Linked DNA regions of Homo sapiens: all the other regions are linked to region 5. Evidence: promoter capture Hi-C in 16 types of primary human blood cells and fetal thymus (Javierre and others, 2016). All regions are on one chromosome and are shown on one strand. Each heading gives the region's core, a stretch centred on a gene start or on the middle of the fragment in contact. The rest is flanking DNA. Distances are from core to core; before and after follow the strand shown.

Evidence for each region. Contacts are between HindIII fragments. The CHiCAGO score rates a contact against its expected background, and 5 or more counts as called.
Region 1: the fragment with the promoter of TSPYL1 here is called in contact with the fragment with the promoter of NUS1 in region 5 in 5 of 17 cell types (non-activated CD4 T cells, naive CD8 T cells, total CD4 T cells and 2 more); the score reaches 15.0 in non-activated CD4 T cells.
Region 2: a contact is called between a fragment that was not itself captured here and the fragment with the promoter of NUS1 in region 5, in 3 of 17 cell types (M2 macrophages, monocytes and M0 macrophages). The highest score is 7.7, in M2 macrophages.
Region 3: a contact is called between a fragment that was not itself captured here and the fragment with the promoter of NUS1 in region 5, in 3 of 17 cell types (total CD4 T cells, total CD8 T cells and activated CD4 T cells). The highest score is 6.6, in total CD4 T cells.
Region 4: a contact is called between the fragment with the promoter of NT5DC1 here and the fragment with the promoter of NUS1 in region 5, in 2 of 17 cell types (non-activated CD4 T cells and activated CD4 T cells). The highest score is 6.4, in non-activated CD4 T cells.
Region 6: a contact is called between a fragment that was not itself captured here and the fragment with the promoter of NUS1 in region 5, in 1 of 17 cell types (naive B cells). The highest score is 5.2, in naive B cells.
Region 7: a fragment that was not itself captured here is called in contact with the fragment with the promoter of NUS1 in region 5 in 1 of 17 cell types (non-activated CD4 T cells); the score reaches 7.8 in non-activated CD4 T cells.

Annotation. Positions count from the first base shown.
Region 1 is chr6:116,278,542-116,281,931 of GRCh38, forward strand. It overlaps TSPYL1 (TSPY like 1), which reads right to left and starts at 1,389. Exons shown (of 1, transcript NM_003309.4): 1 at 1-1,389. The coding sequence starts at 1,289. It also overlaps a transcript of DSE not described here. RefSeq lists enhancers at 753-802, 823-1,092, 1,323-1,382. The HindIII fragment of the contact is 6,415 bases long and covers 1-2,718 here.
Region 2 is chr6:118,787,875-118,790,905 of GRCh38, forward strand. No RefSeq gene overlaps it. Among named protein-coding and RNA genes, the nearest start is that of ASF1A, 100 kb to the right of the region's middle. The HindIII fragment of the contact is 3,743 bases long and covers 1-3,031 here.
Region 3 is chr6:119,314,133-119,317,258 of GRCh38, forward strand. All of the region lies in intron 2 of MAN1A1 (mannosidase alpha class 1A member 1), which reads right to left. Among named protein-coding and RNA genes, the nearest start is that of MAN1A1, 34 kb to the right of the region's middle. The HindIII fragment of the contact is 2,493 bases long and covers 138-2,630 here.
Region 4 is chr6:116,099,513-116,102,721 of GRCh38, forward strand. NT5DC1 (5'-nucleotidase domain containing 1) reads left to right here and starts at 1,341. Exons shown (of 12, transcript NM_152729.3): 1 at 1,341-1,511. The coding sequence starts at 1,419. It also overlaps a transcript of FRK not described here. RefSeq lists enhancers at 1,001-1,523, 1,524-2,044 and a silencer at 1,157-1,416. The HindIII fragment of the contact is 3,203 bases long and covers 1-3,160 here.
Region 5 is chr6:117,673,631-117,677,052 of GRCh38, forward strand. NUS1 (NUS1 dehydrodolichyl diphosphate synthase subunit) reads left to right here and starts at 1,839. Exons shown (of 5, transcript NM_138459.5): 1 at 1,839-2,455. The coding sequence starts at 2,041. It overlaps LOC101927919 (a long non-coding RNA gene), which reads right to left and starts at 1,654. Exons shown (of 3, transcript NR_110854.1): 1 at 1,467-1,654; 2 at 1,017-1,205; 3 at 1-452. The HindIII fragment of the contact is 6,476 bases long and covers 1-3,422 here.
Region 6 is chr6:118,809,906-118,812,926 of GRCh38, forward strand. No RefSeq gene overlaps it. Among named protein-coding and RNA genes, the nearest start is that of ASF1A, 83 kb to the right of the region's middle. The HindIII fragment of the contact is 4,389 bases long and covers 1-3,021 here.
Region 7 is chr6:119,072,151-119,075,566 of GRCh38, forward strand. The region is part of intron 1 of FAM184A (family with sequence similarity 184 member A); the gene reads right to left. Among named protein-coding and RNA genes, the nearest start is that of MIR548B, 4.7 kb to the left of the region's middle. The HindIII fragment of the contact is 1,135 bases long and covers 828-1,962 here.

The DNA of each region.
Region 1 (3,390 bases), core at 139-2,638, 1.4 Mb before region 5:
CTGGGGATCTCTACAGGCTCCCTTAGCGGGCGACGTCGGGCTCTACGGACTCCTTCACGCAACAGGTAGTATTGCAGTGGATTTGGCCACAGATCCTCTTTAATAATCTCAGCAATTTTGTCGGACTCTGGAAGGCTGTGGTCTGAAAACCAAGTGAAGAAGCTGCAGATGAGGTCTTGGTTTCTGCGAATGAAGGACTGGGGTTCATGCCCCCTGCGCCATATAATTGGAGTAGAAAGAGACACCACTCGGCCGGAGGATCTTACCTCATATTCCTTGACAATCAGCTTGTTTCTGAAGTAGGGGTTTCTTCTAAAGAAGAACTTGAACTTGCAACCGGTTCTAGGGTGTCTGAGTTCCTTCACCTCTAAATTGGTTATGTACCTTAACATCTCTGCATCTTGGCCCCTAATCATGGCGGACAACTGGGGGTGGTTTCGAAAAGCAGTCATCCAGAAGCCCGGGATATTCTGAATGATGTAGTTCCTCCGCTCCAGGTAGTGTCGACGCATCCGCCCAAACTTGTGCTCCAGCTGTTGGAAGGCCCTGTCGGCCTGAGCATTCACAGTGTCCAGTTCCAGCTGGATGGCCTCCAGAGGGTCCATGCGGAGAGCCTCATGCAAAGGCCAGGGCCCTTCTTCCTCCCTCGCCTCCTCCTCCAATCTATCCTCCTCCGCCACTTCTATTTCTTCACCTTCTGGCGGCTGCTCCTCTACCTCCATCTGCTCCTCCATTACCTCCTTCTCCGCCAGGCCTTCCTTCACCACCTCAGCGCTCTCCCTCTCAGCCACGGCTGCTGAGACGGTGGCGCACTTTCCTGTCTTCACCTCCTCCGCCTCAGCCTCCGCCCCCGCCGTCAGCTCAGACGCGGATCTCTGGGCGCCACAGATTTCTAGGGCCTTCTCTCCACCCTGAACGCCCTTTTTCAGGCTGCGGTCGGCTGCCATCACCACAGAAGCGGCTGCCAGGCCTTCGGCGGGAGGCTGGCCCTCTTCCTGCCCGGCTTTGATCGCCACATGACCGCGACCCCCAACAACTCGGATCTGGGGAGTACCGCCACGGCCCGCGGCATCCTGGGGTACGCCCCCCTCCTCTGAAGGCGGTGGAGGCGGGAGCGCGACGGTCTCCGAGCCTCCCTCACCCGGCTCCGCCATCACCTGTGTCGCCTCGCTTTGGTCGCGGAGCCTCAGGTACTGGTGTGCGTCCTGGTCGCTCGGGACTTGGTCAGAAATAATGATGCTGTGGGTTTGGAGGGGAGTGGTCCTCTTGACCCCATCCAGGCCGCTCATGTTGCTAACAGTCGGACCAACCGCAGGCGAACGCCCGTTTTCCTCAGAGGCCGAACTGGGAGCTAACCGCCGCTCGCACCGCCCACCCTACAGTCTCACTAACATTTCAGCGGCGGTGTCGTCAGGACTGGAGATCTCACGGTATCGCGAGAACTTGCTGAGCCCGGGATTGGTTCCGCCGCTCCCTGCCAGCCAACCGGATTCTCTGGGCTTTATTTCTGTGAATTTACCCATAGCAACAGTAATTTTACCTACGTAAATAAATGTCGATTGTGCTGAGTCTGGAAGCGCGGACGACCCACCTTGAGATGCATCTAGCGACTGCTCCCAGCATGTAGGAGCAGTTGTAAAATCACAGCCGTAACAGTGCCTGCTCTCCAGTGTCTGAAAACAAATGTTTTTCTGGTCTTCACTTTTTTGAGGCAGGAAGGTAAATCTATTCCCTGTTACTCCACGTAACTAGCAGCAAAAGACTTCTCTTTAAGATTAATAGCAAAATGTTTCCCCCCTTCTTAGTAAAAGTGACATAAAAATATCAATTCTTGCCTCTACGGTTACTGGGGAAAAAAAGCTACTCAGCAGCCTCTTACCACTAAAGCGATGCATAGTATTCATTGCTAATTTTCGATTTATAATCTGCATCAAATAAGAGTTTGTGCTGCATAGTATCGGTAGAAATTAAGCCAGGATCAGTTTGCTAAATGTTCCATGCCTTTTCACTGCAAGAAAGAGGAAATTATAACTATTTCCAGCCCCAAGAACTTAATTTATTATCATATTTAGTTATGTAAGATAGGAATGTTTGGCTCTAACGAAGCATCTGTCTTTAGCAATCAGCTGAGTTCATTAGAGGGGGATGTCAATGTCTCTGGTTGAAGTGTTCCAGTTTGTTGACTTGTGAGTTAAACTGGTGCTGTCTTAGAGAGCTACAAGGCCTCAGAGAAATATCAGTGGGGGGAGCCACATACCACCATTTTGTGAGGAAAGGCTAGTTAAAATGGACAACTAAGATGGCCTTGAAGTAGAAAACAAACTTGCAAAGGGCAACATGCAGCTGGTGGACTCAAGGTATAAAAGAGGCAAACGTTATTTTCTACTTAATTTGCTTTGTGTGGTAGTAGCCTGATGGCCCTCAAAGATGTACCTGTCTTAGTTATGCGGCCAAAGGGACTTCGCAGATATGATTAAGTTAAAGATTTGGAGATGAGAAGATGATTCTGGATTATACAGGTGGGCCCTATGGAATTACAAATTTCTTATAAGAAGGAGGCAGGAGGGTCAGTCAGAGAAGATAAGAGGACGAAAGCACAGAGAGAGGGAAGGAATGGTGGAGAATAGGTGTGGGAGGGAGGAAAGGGAAATCGCTATGTTGCTGGCTTTGAAGATGGAGGAAGGAGCCAGGATCGTAGGAATAAAGGCAGCCTCTAGAAGCTTGAAAGGTAAGGAAATAGATTCAATCCTAGAGCCTCCAAAGGAATGACAACACCTTGAGGTTATTACCTCTAAACTCCAGCACTATAAGAAAATAAATTTGTGCATTTTAAGCTATTAAATTTGTGGTAATTTGTTACAGAAGCAATATGAAATGAATACACCTTGGATTAAGGTTTGGTTGCATCTATGGGTGCCTCAAGTTGTTTCTAATAGCAGCCCCTTCTACCTTGCTCATGGCTTCCCGTGAGTTCCTGCCCAACAGCTGTGATGTATTACAGCTTGAATCTGTCTTTCAATATCAAGACCAGAAATATACTTAGGCAAATGCACAGAAAGACAAAATTAAAGCCTAAACATACCACAAACGATATCTGAGGAGACTGTAAACTGCAAGAGGACATGATCATGGTTTCGTTTCCCTCTGTTTATCGAGTGCCTAGCACACTACCTTACACAGTATCCCATAGATTATTAAAATGTTAAATAAAGGAGCAAATGAGCAGAAAACAGTTTCTCTTGCTTGCAACTTGCTCCTTGCGGAAGAGAAGTAAGGGGCATATGGGTTGTCACTCTGCTCTCCTTCCTATCTGCCACTGGCAAACCAGAGGGCTGCTCTATTCTATATAGTAACAGTTTCCTACTCAGGAGAATGAATTTCTATATATGT
Region 2 (3,031 bases), core at 468-2,967, 1.1 Mb after region 5:
AGAGGATTTCAGAGGAAAACAAGGAACATGTTAATGGTGATGTTGGCTGGTTTGCATAGCTTCCTCTCCCCAGTGCCTACACCTACCCCATTTCCTGATTTGCTGCCCTATTTTACTTGACCCCATTACTTCCAATCCACAGCTGTTCCTCAACCCTTTTCCCATTAGCATCTCTTCTTTTTATTATTTTTTAAAAGTTAGCATCTCTTCTTAAATGCAGAGATATTCATAGTATTTTTTCACAGCTGATTAGAAATCTGTGCATGAGGAGATGGGCTAAGAGATACAGGGTTATGCATGATGTAAGAGAATAATGACAGGAAGCACATGATGAACTGGCACTCAGCAGCAGTGAGAGAGTAATCCATGACCTCAGCTTCCAGCCCGTGGGGCTTCATACATGTCCACCGGAAACCTAAGTTAGGAGTGCACTCTCCAAGTCTTCCCCATGGGGGCTCATTTGAGGGATGGCTGCCATCCAGCCTATATTTCCAGGAAATGGGACTTCGATTACTTGTAGTGTTAACTTTAAAGGAAAGAGATTTTGATGATTCTTTAAAGGGAAAGGACATTTGAAGAAATGTTGAATGAAAATATAGAACAATCCACAACTCGGCTGGGCGCGATGGCTCACACCTGTAATCCCAGAACTTTGGGAGGCTGAGGCGAGCAGATCACAAGGCCAGGAGATCAAGACCAGCCTGGCCAACATGCTGAAACCCCATCTCTACTGAAAATACAAAAATTAGCCAGGTGTGGTGACATGTACCTGTAGTGCCAGCTACTCAGGAGGCTGAGGCAGGAGAATCACTTGAACCCGGGAGGCAGAGGTTGCAGTGAGCCAAGATTGCACCACGGCACTCCAGCCTGGTGACAGAACAAGACTCCATCTCAAAAAAAAAAAAAAAAAGAAAAAGAAAAAAAAAAAGAGAGAGAGAAGAAAAATTGACAACTCACTTTCATTTCCAGTCGCGTGGCCCTTGCTGCCACATGTGCACCAGCTATGAAATTCCCTGTGGTCTGTGAGCAGGTGGTGGAACACCTGCTAAATGAGCTACTCACTTACACATATCCAAGCACCTCTATTTTCCCACAATTCACCAAACCCCTCGGCCCTGTTGGTGCCTTGGGTTGTGGAAGATTTGAAAACAAAAGTGTATTTACAAATTCATCCTCACCATTACATGGTATAATACTATATTTTCCCAGCAGAATTTTTATTCATTGCTGCCTTCAAGAGTGTAGGCACATGCTAAAATATATGAGTTCAATAGCTTAATGTTGGTTTCGTCTATCATTAGAGCTGAGTTGGTAAAAATTATATAGTTGAGAAGCCATTTGGAAAGGCAGAGATGCAAGAAGACCAGAGTCAGAGGAAAGGGTAGAGAATGGAAAATATCGGTTCATGAAATGACGGAATTGATCCAAGTCACTGTGGCTAATCAAGAAGGCCCAGTGAAGGGTGAGAAATCTGCAAATCTTCCTTTACTGGTGTATTTCTTCTTATTCAGCTGACCTCATTCTGTTCAGGTCACATCGCCCAGGCCTCTTGAACTGTACAGGAGGGAAATAAAGAGACCAGTGATGAGACCAAGGGAAGGAACTGGGCTTGGCCTTGGAGAGTGCACCCACAGAGGTTCCCAAAAGGAAAGAAGACACAGTTTACAGTTTTCAATCTGTTTACTAGCAGTCTCTGGCATCTTCTACACACAGTCAAACCAACCACAGCTTGCCCTCCCGTCAGCCCAGGCAGCTGCGGACCGCTTTCTGATTGATGTGAATCCTCCTCACTGCACGTCTCCTCATTCTTACTGATTTGGCCAAGCCATACTGCGGTTTTATTGACAGACAAGATTCATTATCCAAAAGCATCAGGTTTGTGTTGGTTTGGTGGCTTGTAGAACAAGGTTTACTTCTTGTTGATGTGATTTTGGTGTTTTTGTTTTTGGTGTGAAAAATGTGACAGGTTTTTTTTTTTTTTTTTTTTTTTGTTTTTTTTTTTGAGACAGAGTCTGGCTGGGTTGCCCAGGCTGGAGTGCAGTGGCACAATCTCGGCTTACTGCAACCTCTGCCTCCTGGATTCAAGCAATTCTCTGCCCATCCTTTTCTTTCCATTCATTTATTGAAAGTTGGATTGAGTGCCAGCCACTGTCTATTGTCTCTAAAAATGTTAAAATTCCCCTACATCATGTCGATCCTATGTTAGTCTACACAGTATGTTTAGCCCCTCTGAGCTCATAAGAAATGAGCTGGTAAAATGAGAGCACGAGCTCCTGGGTATAGAGAGAAAGGAGACTAAAACGTCTGTGAAAATGAAACATTTAATTAAGCTGACTGATTTTAAACTTTTTCAAACATGAAACATATGGCTCTATAAAGCATGGAACAGGAAGCCAAAAAGTGACAAGCTGGTCAAAGTTTGATTTTCTTTCAAATCTACAAACAAGGCATTTAAATGTTAAAATGATTCAGACCCACGACTGGGATGTTCCCTAATTTATTTTTCTCTTTAAATGGTCAGAATACAGGCCAAGTATGGTGGCTCACTCCTGTAATCCCAGAATTTTGGGAGGCTGAGGCAGGCAGATCACTTGAGGCCAGGAGTTCAAGACCAGCCTGACCAACATATGGAAACCCCATCTCTACTAAAAATACAAAATATTAGCTGGGTGTGGTGGCACAAGCCTGTAGTCCCAGCTACGCGGGAGGCTGAAGCAGGAGAATCACTTGAACCTGGGAGGGTGCACTGAGCCAAGATGGCACCACTGCCCTCCAGCCTGGGTGACAGAGTCAGAATGTCTCAAAAAAATAAAATAAAAGGCCAGAATACAGACCTCTTCAGGGCCTCAGGCCATAAGCACTTTCAGAATCCTAAACACAATAAAGCCTCCAGAGCCAGCACTTCACCACCTTGCATGTAGAAGGTACTAAACACACGAGTTGAAATTTATTTAAAAAAAAATGCTGGACATTGTTTTTCCCTGGAATACATGATCACACTTTTTAAGACTCTCTGAATTGCCTATAATTA
Region 3 (3,126 bases), core at 134-2,633, 1.6 Mb after region 5:
CTTCTATTCCACTTCTAGCATAGGCTGCCCTTCAGGGCCAGCTTCCCGGACTGCTCTGGTAGCAACATATGTGCTATCTCTTTGCCACAAATTAGCAAAAGTCTTTGAGATCTGAGGTGCATAAAGCATTATGTGTAAGCTTCTCAACAATTCTTTCACTGGATGAGCAGTAGTTTCACATTTTAGAAGTATTATTTTGTTCTACAAATCAAACTGTAGGAGCTGTCGTCATCATGGGTTATGGAGGCCGAGGCTGTAAAGGAGGAAGTGAATTAACTTTGTCAAACAGCTACCACACTGCACTGTGAGGGGAATTTGATATAATTTAACACATCCAATCCTTACAACACCCTCTCTGGGGTATTATTATCCCTGTTTTACATATGAAGCTGAGGCCCAAGGTAGTGTAGAGAAGAGCAAGGCTGGAAACTCTCTCACGCTGATTTTCTCCACTATACACTGAACAGAGCCCTCACTTTTTTGCTGCTTGCAAACCTCAGACAGTCATCTGAGGCCTCTGAGCCCTCCTGCTCCTCCATGCACAGAAGGCAGCTCTATCTGGGGTCTGAGAAGCTGTGGCCAGGCCTGGCACCAAAATGACACATGCCGAATCAGGACTGGGAGCTGGCTCAACTGAAGACCCTCACAGCACCACCTTTCCTTGCCTGCCCTACATCCTTCAATTCTCACAGCCTTCCTCCTCCTCCACTTCGGCTCTCAGCTCCAGCTCTGTACCTAACTTTTCTCCTCCTGCCCTGTATGCTACTGGGGCAGACAAGATGGTGTTGTCCTATTCGACCTGGCCTGTCACTAGATTTATGGAAAACCATGAATTCCTCTCCTCATGCCAAGCTGCTGTCTACAGCTCTGATATTTTCTGAAGTTTACTACCACCACGGGAGCTAATGTGGACCAGCTTCTCTTTCCTCTTTCTGTATTACTCGACTTCTTGTTGCTATGTGTGCAATTCGTTTGTTGCCAGGTACTCGAGGTTGCCTCTTATCTACTGAGTGGAGAATATATATATATGGATGGGGATTTTCTTCAGATTGAGGTGTCCTGAATTCTCCTACAGCCAATTTTAATGTACTTCTAAGTTGGCAGGAGATATATAAAGAAACAGTAATTATTTAATGCTATTGCATGAATTCTAATGTGCCACTGAGCATTAATTCCCCAGTGAAATGAAAGCGTGGTTAGCAATAGCAATTTCTTTAGAAAAAGAGTCAGAATGACTGATAAAGCCAGTTTTAAAAAATGAGAATTCTAGTAATCACTACTTGTAATGGACAGATTGTTCTGTTTCTAAGAAGTATCTCGTTCTCCTAAGGAAAACCCAGTGTTTCCAGTTCTAGCTAAAAAAATTGGATCATATGCATTTAATGGTTCTCTTTTTTTATGGCCAAATTTTGACATTATTTTATAAAAACTCTTGTGCTGTTACCAAATGGCAGAGGGTACAGGGGAAAAGAAAAAGAATAAAGAAATACTTGACCAAAATATAAGTCCATTTCTCTAAAACATTCTAAGGGATTATAATTTAGCAACTCAAAAGTTAGAGGTCAGAAAAGGGCTTATTCATAGGTGAATATCTAGTCCATTCCTTTTTGGAAGGAAGCACTATTGCTGAGAACACTTTCCTTACATAGAACAGTTTGGCATCAGCTTAGGGTCTACCATTTGTAGTTATTTCCTTATCAAAAATATCTGTCTTGTGGTTGATGACTATGGTCTCCAGGCAGAAGCTGTCACTGAGTTCAGAAGTTGTCACTTTGTGTTTAAAGGTTTAACCTCAGGGTTTTTGGTCTGTTTATTCGGCAGATTTTTAATTAACACGGAAACTTTGAATTCATTAGATTAGCTGTGCTAAGACCTCTGTGGTCAATGTGAGGCCAGCAAGTGACCCCTTGCAGGCCTGTGGTGACAGGTGATCTCCCTCACTTGGTCCCCAGGCCAAGATCTTACAGGGCTTTCCCAACATGGGAAGCATCAGCAACTACAGATCTTTAGTGATCAAGAGAAAAAGATATTCATTTTTGTGGGTTTTTTTTTTTTTTTTTTTGAGATGGAGTTTTGCTCTTGTTGCCCAGGCTGGAATGCAGTGGCGCGATCTTGGCTCACTGCAATCTCCACCTCCCGCGTTCAAGCGATTGTCCTGCCTCAGCCTCCTGAGCAGCTGGAATTACAGGTGCCTGGCTAATTTTTGTATTTTTAGTAGAGACGGGGTTTCGCCATGTTAGCCAGGCTGGTCTCGAACTCCTGAGCTCAGGTGATCTGCCCACCTTGGCCTCCCAAAATGCTGGGATTACAGGAGTGAGCCACCATGCCCAGCCAAAAAAAGGTATTCCTTGCTGGGATATCACAGATGCTCCCTTAATATCCTAAGGAGAGCTAAAAAAGTGTGCCATAGAAAACAAATACTATTTTCATGTAATGTCTAATCTCAAAAGTTTTTTTTTAATACTTGTAATAAAAAGGTAAGCCCAAACATTCTAACTCATACATATATCATTCCACAACTTCAAATTTTCACATTTTAATTTTTGCAGCAGTGACAAAATGATTTTTAAAATTGAAATGTGCTATCTTTAAAAGATTTGTTTATAGATTTGTCAACCTTATAAAGACTAAGCTTTTTCTTTTAGATTCCTTTTTTAAACTTTACAAATACTATGAGGTTATCACTAGTATTACTAGTAGTTAATAAAGTTACTAATTATTTAGTGATCGATGAAAATGAATTAGCTTGAATTTCATTAAAATGAGCAAAGTCAGATATAGTTACCTTTTTAAATTACATTTTTTTATTATTATTATTCTTTTTTTTTTTTTTTGAAACAAGCTATCCCTAGAGTCAAGCCCCATTCTTCAGTTAGCAAGAGGAGAATTGTAGGGCACAAGTATTTCCCTTTTATCCTTTCTTTTGTGTGTGTATGTTTTCTAAAACAGACTTTTTTTTAAACAGAAGTTTTAGATGCACAGCAAAACTGAGTGGAAAGTACAAAGTTCCTATATATCCTCTGTACCCCAAAGGCACAACCTCCTCACTATCAACATTACGCACGAGAATCGTACGCTTATTACAACTGATGGACCTACACTGACACATCATTACCACCCAAAGTC
Region 4 (3,209 bases), core at 91-2,590, 1.6 Mb before region 5:
GTTCACAGACATTGAAAACATGATTGTTGGACTCATCAGTGAACAGCTTAATCTTCTTGAAGATTCTTTACTTTTCCTATTCCAGAGAGATTTGTTTGGGGCTTTTAAGTGTTATAATGGAACAAGTTATCAATTTTATTCAAATGGGTCTACTAGGTATAAGTGTCCTCCTACTCAATTGTACTATCTATTGCACTAAATTAATCCTCTGATTGGTCTATTAGCCTCAGAAGGATTAGTATTTGAAAGGGTTAAATGCAGTTCTCAATCAATTATATTTTCATTATGTCACGACTATTGATTTGTCCCATTAGACACATTGTTCCTTTAAATTGAGAACTGAAGCAGTGTAAACATAATAGATTTGTATTTTCTTTTTAAAATGAGGTACTATGTAATAAAGATCTCAAAGTGCTAGTCCTTCACATCCGGAAATCAGGAAGAGAATTAAATGCCCTAAGGCATACATTGTATGTAATGGATTAACTTTCTCTGCATCTAAAATGGTAGTAGTTATACAGTTCTTGAGAGAATTAAGCAAATGTCACTCAAAACATTTTGTGCTCTATAAACCTTAAACCCGGTTTGCAAAAGTTTTTTGTAGTATGCTCTATATATTTCTATGAAGTTTCTGATGCCCTTTCATAAAAAATTCATTACAATAACAAAATAGGATTATCAAGTAATAACCAATATTGGTTTCCATAACAAGTATCATCTTGCAAAATGGTTCTTCACGATGTCTGATACATTTATTTTCTAACGCACTCCAGGGTATGAAATAGTGAAAGGTCTGTCTTCCACTTAACCACTTAGGAAACCAAGGAATATAAAGTTTTTGGTTTAAACCACTATCAAAGATCACGTGGGTGAAAAGACCTTCCAAATTGTAGGCTAACTGGGTCAGAGGGATATTAGCGGATGAATTTTTTCTATGATCTTACTATTCCTCACACAGGGGTAAAAGGTCAGGTCTAACCTCATGATCTCCTGGTTTCCGAGGCGCCCTGAGGCGATGGAGTGTCCCGGTTAATTTTGTGGTAGCCCTCGGGAAAGGCTACGTGCCTACAGGTCTCAGCTGTGCAGCAGCGGCACCGCTCCTGGACCCCTACTGCCTTCTGGGCTCCTAGGCTTGCGGAACAGATCAGGAGTCGCCGGCATTGGGGTACCAGGAGGACGCGAGCTGACTACCTGACTCCGGGCGGCGCAGGACGCCCGCCGCGCGAGGGGCGGGGGCTAAGCGTATCGAGGGGCGGTGCTCGAGGGCGCGGGAGGCGGGAGAGGCTGCCGCGCCGTGTGCCCTGGCAGCCGCAGCCCCGCCCCGCCGCGTCCGGCCCGGTCCTGTCCCGCAGCGTCCCGCCAGCCAGCTCCTTGCACCCTTCGCGGCCGAGGCGCTCCCTGGTGCTCCCCGCGCAGCCATGGCTCAGCACTTCTCCCTGGCCGCCTGCGACGTGGTCGGATTCGACCTGGACCACACTCTGTGTCGCTACAACCTGCCCGAGAGCGCCCCGGTGAGTGGCGCGGGCTCCGGGGCGCACTGCGCGCAACCTCCATGGCGGCTGGGGCTTGAGTTTCCTCCAGGTTTGGGCAACGGCGGACGCTGCCCGGGGCCTGCGGCGGCCGAGTCTTGCCGCAGAGCGCGGCCTCCAGCGGCGAGAAGGGGCGGAAGTGTGCAGCCTCCGCTCCGCGCCGGTGCCGTGGGGACCGGCACATTTACCTCAGCCATTAGCTAATGTTGAGAGGGATAGGGAAGAACGAAGGAGGGGCAAACTGCGCAAGACCGGGCTGGGGAATCGGTGATTTCTAGGGCCGAGGAGGGGCGGGGTCAGGGGGACTAGGGCTGTCCTTGAAGATCTCACGTCGTGGAACTTTCTCTGCATGTCTTTCTGGACACCAGCTGATTGTGGACACAGCCACTTGATTTGGTACTTGCATTTTTTTTGGCTGCATTTTTCTGTTTGCACGATCAACCACCCATCAGTGTTTAAACTGCAATCTGGGAGAGATGCGTAGTATATAGTGTAGTGTATTGAAAGGAACACTAGTTGAAAAGTCATTAAGATCTTAGCCCTAGTTTTACCTTCTATCAAGAGAAGAAAATACATATTTATTGCGCATCGACTACGTGCTCCGTGCACTTTGAATACATTCCAGTCCTACCAACAGTCTGCGAAGTTTGGGTCCTCACTGTGCCCTGAGGGAGGGGGACATGGAGTATGCATGCTTCCAGACCTGTACACTCAAATTAATTGCCCTCCCTCCACTATTCCTTTGGTTTCCCAATTCCCAAGGAAACTAATTTTGAAAAGTTACCAGATTTTTTTAGTCCAAGATCTAAGCATCCAGACAGAAAAAGAGCTGGTTATGAGTACAGTGGTGAAAGCGAGGACTCCTCAGCCAGACTGCCTAGCTTAGGACACCAGCTCCACTGTTACTAGCTCTGTGACTTCGAGGAAGTTACTTAACCTGTGCTGCTTCTCAGTTTCCCCATCTGTAAAATGGAGCTAATAATTGGATTTACCTCACAAGATTGTTGCAAGGATTAAATGAGTAAGAGATGTATAATGCTTAGAATAGTACCTTGGCAAAGACAAGTGTTTGCTTTTATGGTTACCACCCAAACTATTTGGAAACCTCACAGTTTATGGGTAGAACTCTAGATCACTGGTGCAGACATCAGCCAGGGTTGTGCCCCATTATGGGCACCCGCCAGTTCCTGCACCCACCAGTTCAGGTACACGTTAAAGGTCAAAAAAGAGTGGCTGCCCGAATTTCTCGTGTGTTTTCTATGCCCAGATGCTAAATTTTTTTTTAAATGTCCTTTTTCTGCTGTTACACTTTCCTGCTTTCTTACCTTACAGGTCTGGTTTCCTTAGTCACATTGAGAATTAAGAAGGCTTTTTTACTGCTTGATTCTTTGGCCACTGCTTCCCCTAGGTCTTTGATACATGTTTTCCTTCCCTCTGTGTCTTTCGAATCCTTCCTGGTTCACAGTTTTGTGTGTCTCCTCTTTAGTTACCTTCATTTGGAGGTAATATTGTTAAACCACTGTCATGTTAGAGCTAGTGTTGTCCATAGGTGATCATAAAATTTCAGAATATAAGATTCTCAAAGACAAGAGGTTTTTTTACTGCAAACCTGGAGAATAAGTGATGTTTAAAGCTTGAAAACAGTAACCTATTGAGTTTTGGATCATGTTTGGTGTGGAA
Region 5 (3,422 bases), core at 589-3,088:
GGCGTGAACCCGGGAGGCGGAGCCTGCAGTGAGCTGAGATCGCACCACTGCCCTCCAGCCTGGGCGACTGAGCGAGACTCCGTTTCAAAAAAAAAGGAAAAAAGAAATACAGAAGATAGAGCCTGTTTGTGCCTGCACACCTGAGAGCAGGCCACGGGAACATGAGATTGATGTCTTTAATCTTGTCAGAACGGATAGACATTGGGGCAAAGAAATGAGTACGGTAGAGAAATGTGGCAACATAGTCGGCATGGGGGGTGGGGTGGGGTCTGCAGAATACGTGGCCAAATCTCAATGGGACACTGGTGTCTAGGGAGCTTCCTTAACAAGCATCATGTAGCTGCATAAACTACAGCAATGGGCAGTGAGGAAGAAGACTGTAGGCTTCCCTGATCATGGCCTTTCGCCTCTCCTTCTTTGTCCATCATCAGAGGAGCTACCGCAGAGGAGACCTGGAGAGAAAGAAGTGTGTGAAGGGTGTGCCTGGTGCCCAGCCCTCAGTTCTTCAGGCTGCACTGCCAAAGGGAGGAAAATTGCACTGCGAAAGGGAGATGGACATGAGATTCAACTTTTAAAGTAAAGTTAAATGAGTCTTAGAAACCAAAATGAGACTAGTTGAAAAAGTGACAATGTTAGAAAAATTAAGTCACATAGCCAAGACGTGAACAGATGTTTCCCAGGGGGAAAAAGAGGCTTTAGCGAACAAAGAATAGGTAGGTATTACAAAAACGCAACTGTTTACACACACACACGTGTGTAAATATGTGTGTATACGTGTGTATGTGTACAGTTGCATTTTTGTAATACCTCCCTAATCTTTATATATATACTTATATAAATATAAATGCAAATAATATAAATATTATTGTTGCACACACACATATATATGATGATAGAGGATGTAGCATGTAGGATAAACCTTGAGAAATGGGTTGGAATGTCGGCAATACCAAGTCGGGAATCAGGAATTCAGGAGAAGAGCTTGAACAAAAAGGGCAAAGACAGTACAGACTTACCGCGGGGAAGTACAAAACCATTCTAGAGGACCACGTCGAAGTCCACATGGACAGAAACATTAGGGTGTTAAAGGGGATGATAAGGCTTGGATGGGCAGTTTGCTTCAAATAGTGGCGGTCATTGAAGTCAGGCACAATTTCTATTTTTTTTCCCCACTGTAAACCTAACCCACGGCGGTTGGTCAAAGTCTTGCCGAATAAAAAAAAAAAAAAAAAAAAAGAATTAAGTGACTGGACTGCCAAGCTGTAGAGCCTCTATTAAGCAATGTACAGCCAGGAAAGGATACCTTAGATGAGAATGACATGGGTAGAGGGGTGTTTCAGGAACATGGCTAAAGAGCCTCGCTCCCAGCCTCAGCCGGGAGGCTGAATAAAGGACAGTAGCAGGATCACTCCAGCCTTTGAGGACACTTTTGGAAACCCTGGTGGATTCCCAGCATCAACACTTACTGAGGGCTGCTTTCCATCCCTAGGTTCTTTCCGGCATTTGTAATTTCCAATCCACTTAGGACACTTCTACTCCTCAGAAACCGTTTCTGTCGGGGCCGTGAGAGGAGACAGTATAAGACTTCCTGGACCCAAGGGACGCCGGGTCCCCTGGAAGCGCCCATCGCATTGAAGACCACGTGTGCCTTGCTGGGGTCCCATTCAGACAAGTCCCGGGTCGTTCGCTCATCGCCCTCCACGCGACCAGGGGGCGCCCGCGGTATCGGCCCGGCTAGTTCGCAGGCGTGCGCCTTCCCTCACTGCGCCGGAACGGGCCACGTTCTCGGACCCAGAAGCCGCGTCAGAATTCCACGCTGGCCAATCGGAACTGTCCATGTACTACTGGGGGCGGGGCTGCCAAGGGAGGAGGAAGATGGCGGCGGGGGCGAGGTGAGGTGTTGGCAGTGGAAAGGGGTTCGGGCTCGGGGGGCGGGGGGACGCGGAGCGATGGCCCGCGCCGGCCGCAGGGGCGGATAAAAAGCCGTCGCGCTGCGGGAGTGGGCGGGAGGGAGAGGGGGTGTCTGAGGGCCACAAGAGTATGACGGGGCTGTACGAGCTGGTGTGGCGGGTGCTGCACGCGCTGCTCTGTCTGCACCGCACGCTCACCTCCTGGCTCCGCGTTCGGTTCGGCACCTGGAACTGGATCTGGCGGCGCTGCTGCCGCGCCGCCTCTGCCGCGGTCCTAGCGCCGCTCGGCTTCACGCTCCGCAAGCCCCCGGCAGTCGGCAGGAACCGCCGTCACCACCGGCACCCGCGCGGGGGGTCGTGCCTGGCAGCCGCACACCACCGGATGCGCTGGCGCGCGGACGGTCGTTCCTTGGAGAAGCTGCCTGTGCATATGGGCCTGGTGATCACCGAGGTGGAGCAGGAACCCAGCTTCTCGGACATCGCGAGCCTCGTGGTGTGGTGTATGGCCGTGGGCATCTCCTACATTAGCGTCTACGACCACCAAGGTGAGGCCCGGTGCGGTGGTGGGGGGTGGCCGAGGCGTCTTGGACCGCTAGACCGCTGGTCTGGCGGGTGGTGCCCATGGCACGAGTTGCCGCGGCCTCTCTGCAAATCACAGCGCTAGCGCTTTCGAGGAAGGGAGATCAGCTTTATTGAACACCTACTAATTCTCTGGATTTGACTCAGTAGCTTTTTAACATTTTAAAAATATCCCTTGGCCGGGCGCGGTGGCTCATGCCTGTAATCCCAGCACTTTGGGAGGCCGAGGCGGACGGATCACCTGAGGTCGGGAGTTCGAGACCAGCCTGACTAACATGGAGAAACCCCGTTTCTACTAAAAATACAAGTTTAGTCGGGCGTGGTGGCATATGCCTGTAATCCCAGCTACTAGGGAGGCTGAGGCAGGAGAATCGCTGGAACCCGGGAGGCGGAGGTTGTGGTGAGCCGAGATCGCGCCACTGCACTCCAGCCTGGGCAACAAGAGCGAAACTCTGTCTCAAATAAGTAAATAAATAAATAAAAATAAATAAAAAATCTCTTATTCGTTATAATACTGCAGTAATGTAGATGGTATTTGTATACCCTTGCCAAGGTTTAAAAACATTAACTGATTTGCCCAAGGCCACAAGATCGTAATGGGGCCACAAAGATCGGAATGAGGATATTGGAATTTTAGCCATTCTGTGCTTTTTCACAATCTTTGCCTTTGGTTACACCACACTGTTTCTTTAAGAGAGCTTCCAGGCGCTGTTCTTAAGTCGCAGTGAGGCTATAGAGGACTTAGGCATGGGCTGTGTGATAGGTACTGCAAATGGGAGCGGTGGGGGTCAGGTGGTATTTGAACTGGGTTTATGAAAAATATGTGAGAGATTGGATAGGCAGAAAAGAAAATGGTCCCTTTCTGTCTTGGAAGGCTGGGATGGTTTGTGATCCTTCATCATCAGTGCCCAACACAGTACTTGATAGAATTGT
Region 6 (3,021 bases), core at 388-2,887, 1.1 Mb after region 5:
AGAGCGGTGACACAATCTCAGCTCAGTGCAACCTCCACCTACCGGGTTCAAGCGATTTTCCTGCCTCAGCCTCCCAAGTAGCTGGGTCTACAGAAGCGTACCACCTCACCCCACTAATTATTGTATTTTTAGTAGAGGCGGGGTTTCACTATATTGGCCAGGCTGGTGTTGAACTCCTGACCTCAAGTAATCTGCCCACCTCGCACTCTATGTATTATTGAGCACTGAAAAAGTTAGATCTCAAAATAGTAAGCAATATTCCAGCATTGGTTTTGCTTATCATGAAAACTGTAAGTTAAACCAAGTTTGTTCCCACATAAAAACACACCTGATACAAATGCTTGCTTTCTGTCGGTTCACCTCTACCAAGGAATTGCAATTCCAACTAAACATAAAGAAGAGTGGCCTAAAAATAATTTGCATTCACAAGATATAGAAATTACTCATTTCTCGGTAAGTCCTGGCCCAGTATGTATATCCCATTTCCTCCCTTAAACTGTATCTTGCACCGGACTATTCACAGACACAATTTTTTAAAATTTAGTTTAATATCTGTCAAGTTCACTTTTATTACAAATATTACCCTTAGATGCATTTTCAAGCCTTTAAGGAAGAGATGTGGCAGTGGAACAGATACAAGAACTACTGAGTGTGTCATAAGGGGCGGTTGCCACCACTTCCTGTGCATGTCCTCTGAGTGACAGTGAAGAGGATGTGTGTGGGTAATGGCTCCCCGTATACCTGGGGGGCTATGTCACATGCAAGACAGAACACTGACAGGAACACCCCAATTGGAGTGGGTACTAATGTGAGCCAGGGCGCTTTTATCTTTCTTGAATGTTAATAAGGAAAGCAAGCTCAGAGGATGGTTTTGAACACTGAGGAAGAAGCACTGGCTTAGCTTCCTACATTGTGATGTTAATAGGTTTGGAAACTGGTTGTTTGGTAAGTTGCATCTGAAAGGTTCACCAGGTCCCAGGAAGTCTCTAGTGACCTAGAATTCAAGGTTGGATAGTTTCTGAACTCCTAAATATTGTGAACTGGCTAAAGGCAAGCTCTCTGAGTTAACCTAGGATTTTCTCTAGCATTCCACCCGTTAAGCAGAAGGTTTAGCACATGGAGAAGGAACAGAAATCAAGTATGCCTACAGAATGTGTAAGTTTGTTAGAATTAAAATTTGTCAACCAAGAATAAATGTTTAATGTTTTGGTATACCTTCAAAAAAGTTTAAAATTTGCATTAAGCCACAGAGTTAAAGATATCAGAATAATATGTTTGTTTTGCTCATATTTCTATAAGACACCAAAAATTACAATAAAATTCCTATTATACATTTTAGAATACTACATATGCACTGAAGATTAATCTTTTACAGTATCAGAAAATTCCATTATCTCATATAGTTACAATAGAATTTAAATTCTGGTTTAGCCCTCTCACAGATAAAATTAAGTATAGTTTTTATTGTGTTTAGATAATTTTACATTATTAAAATGTTTTCAAGAAGTACACTGGGACTGAAATCAAAATATTTTGGCAACTTGATTCAGAATTAAAGGTTTTTTGTTTGTTTGTTTGTGAGACAGGGTCTTACTCTGTCACCCAGGCTGGAGTGCAGTGGCATGATCTTGGCTCACTGCAACCTCCGCCTCCCAGGTTCAAGTGATTCTCCTGCCTCAGCCTCCCGAGTAGCTGGGATTACAGGCGCCTACCACCACACCCAGCTAATTTTTGTATTTTTAGTAGAGACGGGGTTTCACCATGTTGGCCAGACTGGTCTTGAACTCCTTACCTCAAGTGATCCACCCACCTCAGCTTCCCAAACTGCAGGGATTACAGGTGTGAGCCACCGCACCCGGCCAAAGGTTATTTTTTACACCTCTCTTTATTGAACAGAAATGTGACCTGTGAGACTGTTCATATTCCCCCAAGACAATCCATGTGCTTCCTTGATACACACATTAAAGACCATACAAGAGAAAGTTTTAGTCATCATGAAATCACGTCTATAACAAAAGTAGGACACAGCAGGATAAAACATGACCTCAGGACATCAAAACACTTTCCAGCTCTGAACCTACTAAACTTGACCCAACAGCAGTGGAAGAACTTTTGCCCATTAGTGACTCTCCTGAACAGGTGACCCTGAGGCCTAGAGTTTGGTCTCTAACACTACTGACCTTCAAAGGAAACAGAGTACCTTGGGGATAGCTGACTCCATGACATGGAGCATGAAGAAATCAAAATGGGTATGGAACATCCTGTTGTTTTCGGATAGCATGGATGCTTTTATAGAAGCATCAGAATGATGAAAGGACATTCAGGTCAACATAAAGGGACTCTGACCAAGCTGTGAGACTGAGCATTAAATATAAGCACAATGAGGCAGTTATAACACATAACAGTCTGTGATAGAAGTTTAACATTTTAGTAAGAAGGATGTTTATACAGGTTGAATATCCCTAATCGAAAAATCCCAAATCCAAAACTTTGTGAGTACTGACATGATGCTCAAAGGAAATGCTCACTGGGGCATTCTGGATTTTGGATTTTCAGATTTGGGATGCTCAACCAGTAAGTATAGGTATAGTGCAAATATTCCAAAATCCAAAAAAATCCAAAATCCAAAACATTTCCAGGCCTAACCATTTCAGATAAGGGATATTCAATATGTATTGGGTATTTTATTTCTTCTAATAATTATGTCTGTTTAAAATATTTAGGTATGTAGTTATTTCTATCTGGGTAAGTACCAAAGAATAAACATATGGAAGTGGTAATTTGGCCAAATCTTGACAGAAGGTACTAAAATGGAAAGTGGATTGATTAGCACAAAATAATAGGATGCATGGTGGGCACAAATTATAACCAGGTAGAAGGTGGCATTGGCAGTCATACACAATGACCAAGGAAGAAAGACAATTCAACATGTAATTTAAAATATGAATTACTCAGTGTCCTAAAGAGACAAGGTAACTATGAAAATTAAATCTCTCATTACTAAAAATGAAACCTCTAAAA
Region 7 (3,416 bases), core at 145-2,644, 1.4 Mb after region 5:
GGCACCCAACCTAAACCTTTAACCTTTAACTCTAAATCTTTAACTCTAAAGGAAGTCCCTTTATAAGTTTGTGACCAGTTAATTAACAGGATACTATGCTTTTGTGTCCATTAGTAAAATGCAACAAATTAATCCAAACCACTCCACTATGACTAAAAGATTACATCCAAGCCACTGCATAACAGCATGGCAAAGCTACAATGTAACAAAGAAAAAGAGATGCTGCATTTGGCATGTACTAGTGCTAAGGTGAAACACAGCCAATTGCTATGTTTTATGAGGCCACTTACCATTCTTGTTCAAAGACTCAAGTCATAAGCAATATAGAATTATTATGAAAGAGTATCTAGATAATTCAAACAAACCAATTAGTGAAAAATCATTTATTTCATGTACAGAAAATAGTATTATTTGAAAAATTCACTGGTTTTGGTGTTATATAAACACATTCTGGTTTTGGATATAGTAAAAGCAGAGTTAGTATAAAATGACTGATCACAAGGCTTTTTTATATTTGCTAAGAAACTAGTATATTAATTACCTACATTCTGAAGTGTCAAATACTTATAATGTAGACAAAGAACATTATATTTGTATTTTTTACATCAAAAATACATTAAGAAATAAAATAGCTTTTTGAAGCAGTTTAAAGGGCAGTCAATAAACATTTACATATTTAGGAATAATTTAACTCAGCTGAAATGATCTATCATTAACCCAGAAGAGTAGCAGATACAATTCCTAAAAAGTACTGTCTTTCTCTGCTGTATAACAAAATTACTTGCTGTATCATTATGACCACCATCTTCTTCAGTAAATACTTATTAAGCTTTGGTACTATGTGCAAACCATTCATATTAAGGTTACATGTAATAAAAGATACAGTCCCTAGAGCTGAGAACCTTACAGTCAAATTATGAAAACAAAGTATATTTATAAACACAATAAACAGTATTTGCAAGTTTGCATTATTAAGTATCAAGTAAGAGGTACCAACAATCAATGCTAACGCACAGCAAGGAAAGCCCAACAAGGGTAGCTGGTCAGGACAGTTTTAGTAGAAGAGCCATAAGCTGGGTATTAAATAAGAGGACTTGATGCTAAGCACAGAAAACACAAAATAAACTACTTCCTGCTGTTTGGGAACTTACACTGTACCATATATTACTTATGTCTATACTAGTTAAGTGATAAACAGACTCTGTATCAAAAGTGCAATCAACTAAAGAGGGATTTGATAAGCAGCTAACATAACAAGGTATTAAAAGGGAAGTTTCTGCTGAGAACCAGAGACGATAGAAATGACATTCCAAAGCAGCTGCCAGAACATTCTCGAAAATGTCAAGAGGCAGTCTAAAGAAGAGTGCTGAGATGTGTTACTTTCCACCCCCACCACTAGTGAGGTGGTGCTTCAAGAAGATTACAGAGTAGGTTTCAGAGATTTCCCTGGGGAGAGCTGTGGTAACAGGGGCCTGTGTCTTCAAGGGGGAAGGGTGGAAGATGCTTGTCCCACACCTAAAGCCTAGGGAAAAAGGCTTTGAGGGAATGACTTGAAGAACTTGACATGTGCCTCAAGCACTTTGAAGAACATGCTAACCTGGTACCTGATTAATCCCCAGAAAATCTAAATGATGAGAAGCTGCATGAAGAGGCATGTGAGAACAAGAGAGAGGGCTGAACTGGGACCACTAGCAGAGTTTGTGCAAAGAATGAGTGCTCCCTATGTGGCCTCTACGGAAGAGTGAACAACCTGGGGTGGGATCACACAAGTCCATGCAAGAGGGGTATCTAGAGTTTGCACAGACCTCAGCAAAGTGGAGGTGAAGGTACTGCTAGCTCCAAGAGGCTGAGGAAGGAGTAAGCAACCAATCAGCGCATAAGGGAATTCTCACTGTCAAGGAATTGAGGTGAAAATCTAGAGCCACTGAGGTGGGAGGTAGAAGATTCACCAGTGAAAGAATAAGCTTTAAACATCTGCAACGGCTACAAAAGCACTGAAACTAGATCACCAGCTAGCTTCTTCACTAATCAAGTAAAAGTTTGCTGCTCCTCTTTACTCTTTTCACTTCTTCCTTGACCAACTTTGGAAGGGTGAGAAACCAGAACTGGCAAGACAAAGCAGGAAGAGTAGAAAAACCAGGTAAGAAGTAAAAAGGCAATAATACCCCCTTCCCTAGTTACTGGTTTCCCCCTTGCAAGAGACAGAGCAAGAGACCAGTTAAGGGAGAAGCTTCATCTTTATTTCAGGCTTGGTCTGCAGTTTTTACTTGTTGGTACTGGGCATTTTAATTTTAATAATCAAATTGAGACTTTTGTGACTTTGTTACTGAAGGATGATTTGTATTATCTAAAAGCAACCAGAAAAATTAAGTTAACCCATGAAAGAGGATGAACCAGTCTCAAAGAGTAAATTGAAAGAGACAAAAAGGGAAAAAAAGTAATTTGAAAGTGACAAAAAAAAAGCTTTTATAATTACATCCCACAAGGCCTGCTTTTCAACCTGATATCCTGAAAAGTCAACACAGTGGAGAGCACAGAAGTATACAAATGTGGTCTTATAAAACATAATTGAATCCATCCAGCTTCACTGCCTATCTTGAGATAGTTCAGCCATTAACATTTGCAGAAACTTGCCATAATGTAGCTCAAGAATCTAATATTAATTCTTAAAACTTGACACGAGTGACCCAAATATGCTAGACTTCCTTTAAAAGGCAGGGACTGTGTCTTGCTCCCTGCTGTATCTGTAACATTTTCCAAAGTCTCCCTTACATAAAAGGTGCTTAAAGAACTGGTGTTCTCCTTACCATGAGAAGGCAGCTATGTTAGGCTCTTAGGAAATAGGATATGAACAAATATGCATACAGCAAAGACTGCTTTTTAATTAAAAATATATTGAGCTTTGCTATGGGCAAAATTATAATCTTTATTACTTTTCATGCTTATCCTTTCATAGCCAGCCAAACCTTTGAAACATGCACAATGTATTTTCAGAACATTCTACCACAATGCAGAATAAATGTGAAACCTTTAAACTTTGATATTCGAAGGAGAAAAAAAACTACTATATATACATTTTTAAAGAGTTTAGCAGAAAACCCTCAAAATAAGTACACTATCACACAACGCTGTTAAATGCAGAATGGTTTAAAAGGAGAGAAGCATTTTTAAAATATCCATATTTTATTAATACTCATATTGGTATATGTCTTTTCAGTGAGTGACAGCCTGAATGAAGAGCCTACTATGTGCCGCTACAACTCTGTAAAATAGGTACTATCATCCCTATTTTAAAGATGAGGAAACTGAGGCTCAGTGTTTCATGGCTTGCTCAAGGTCACAATAGTAGTAAGTGGTGGAGTGAGAATTTTAACTCAGTGTGTCAGGTTCCCACACTGCTCTTAAGTGTGCTGCTG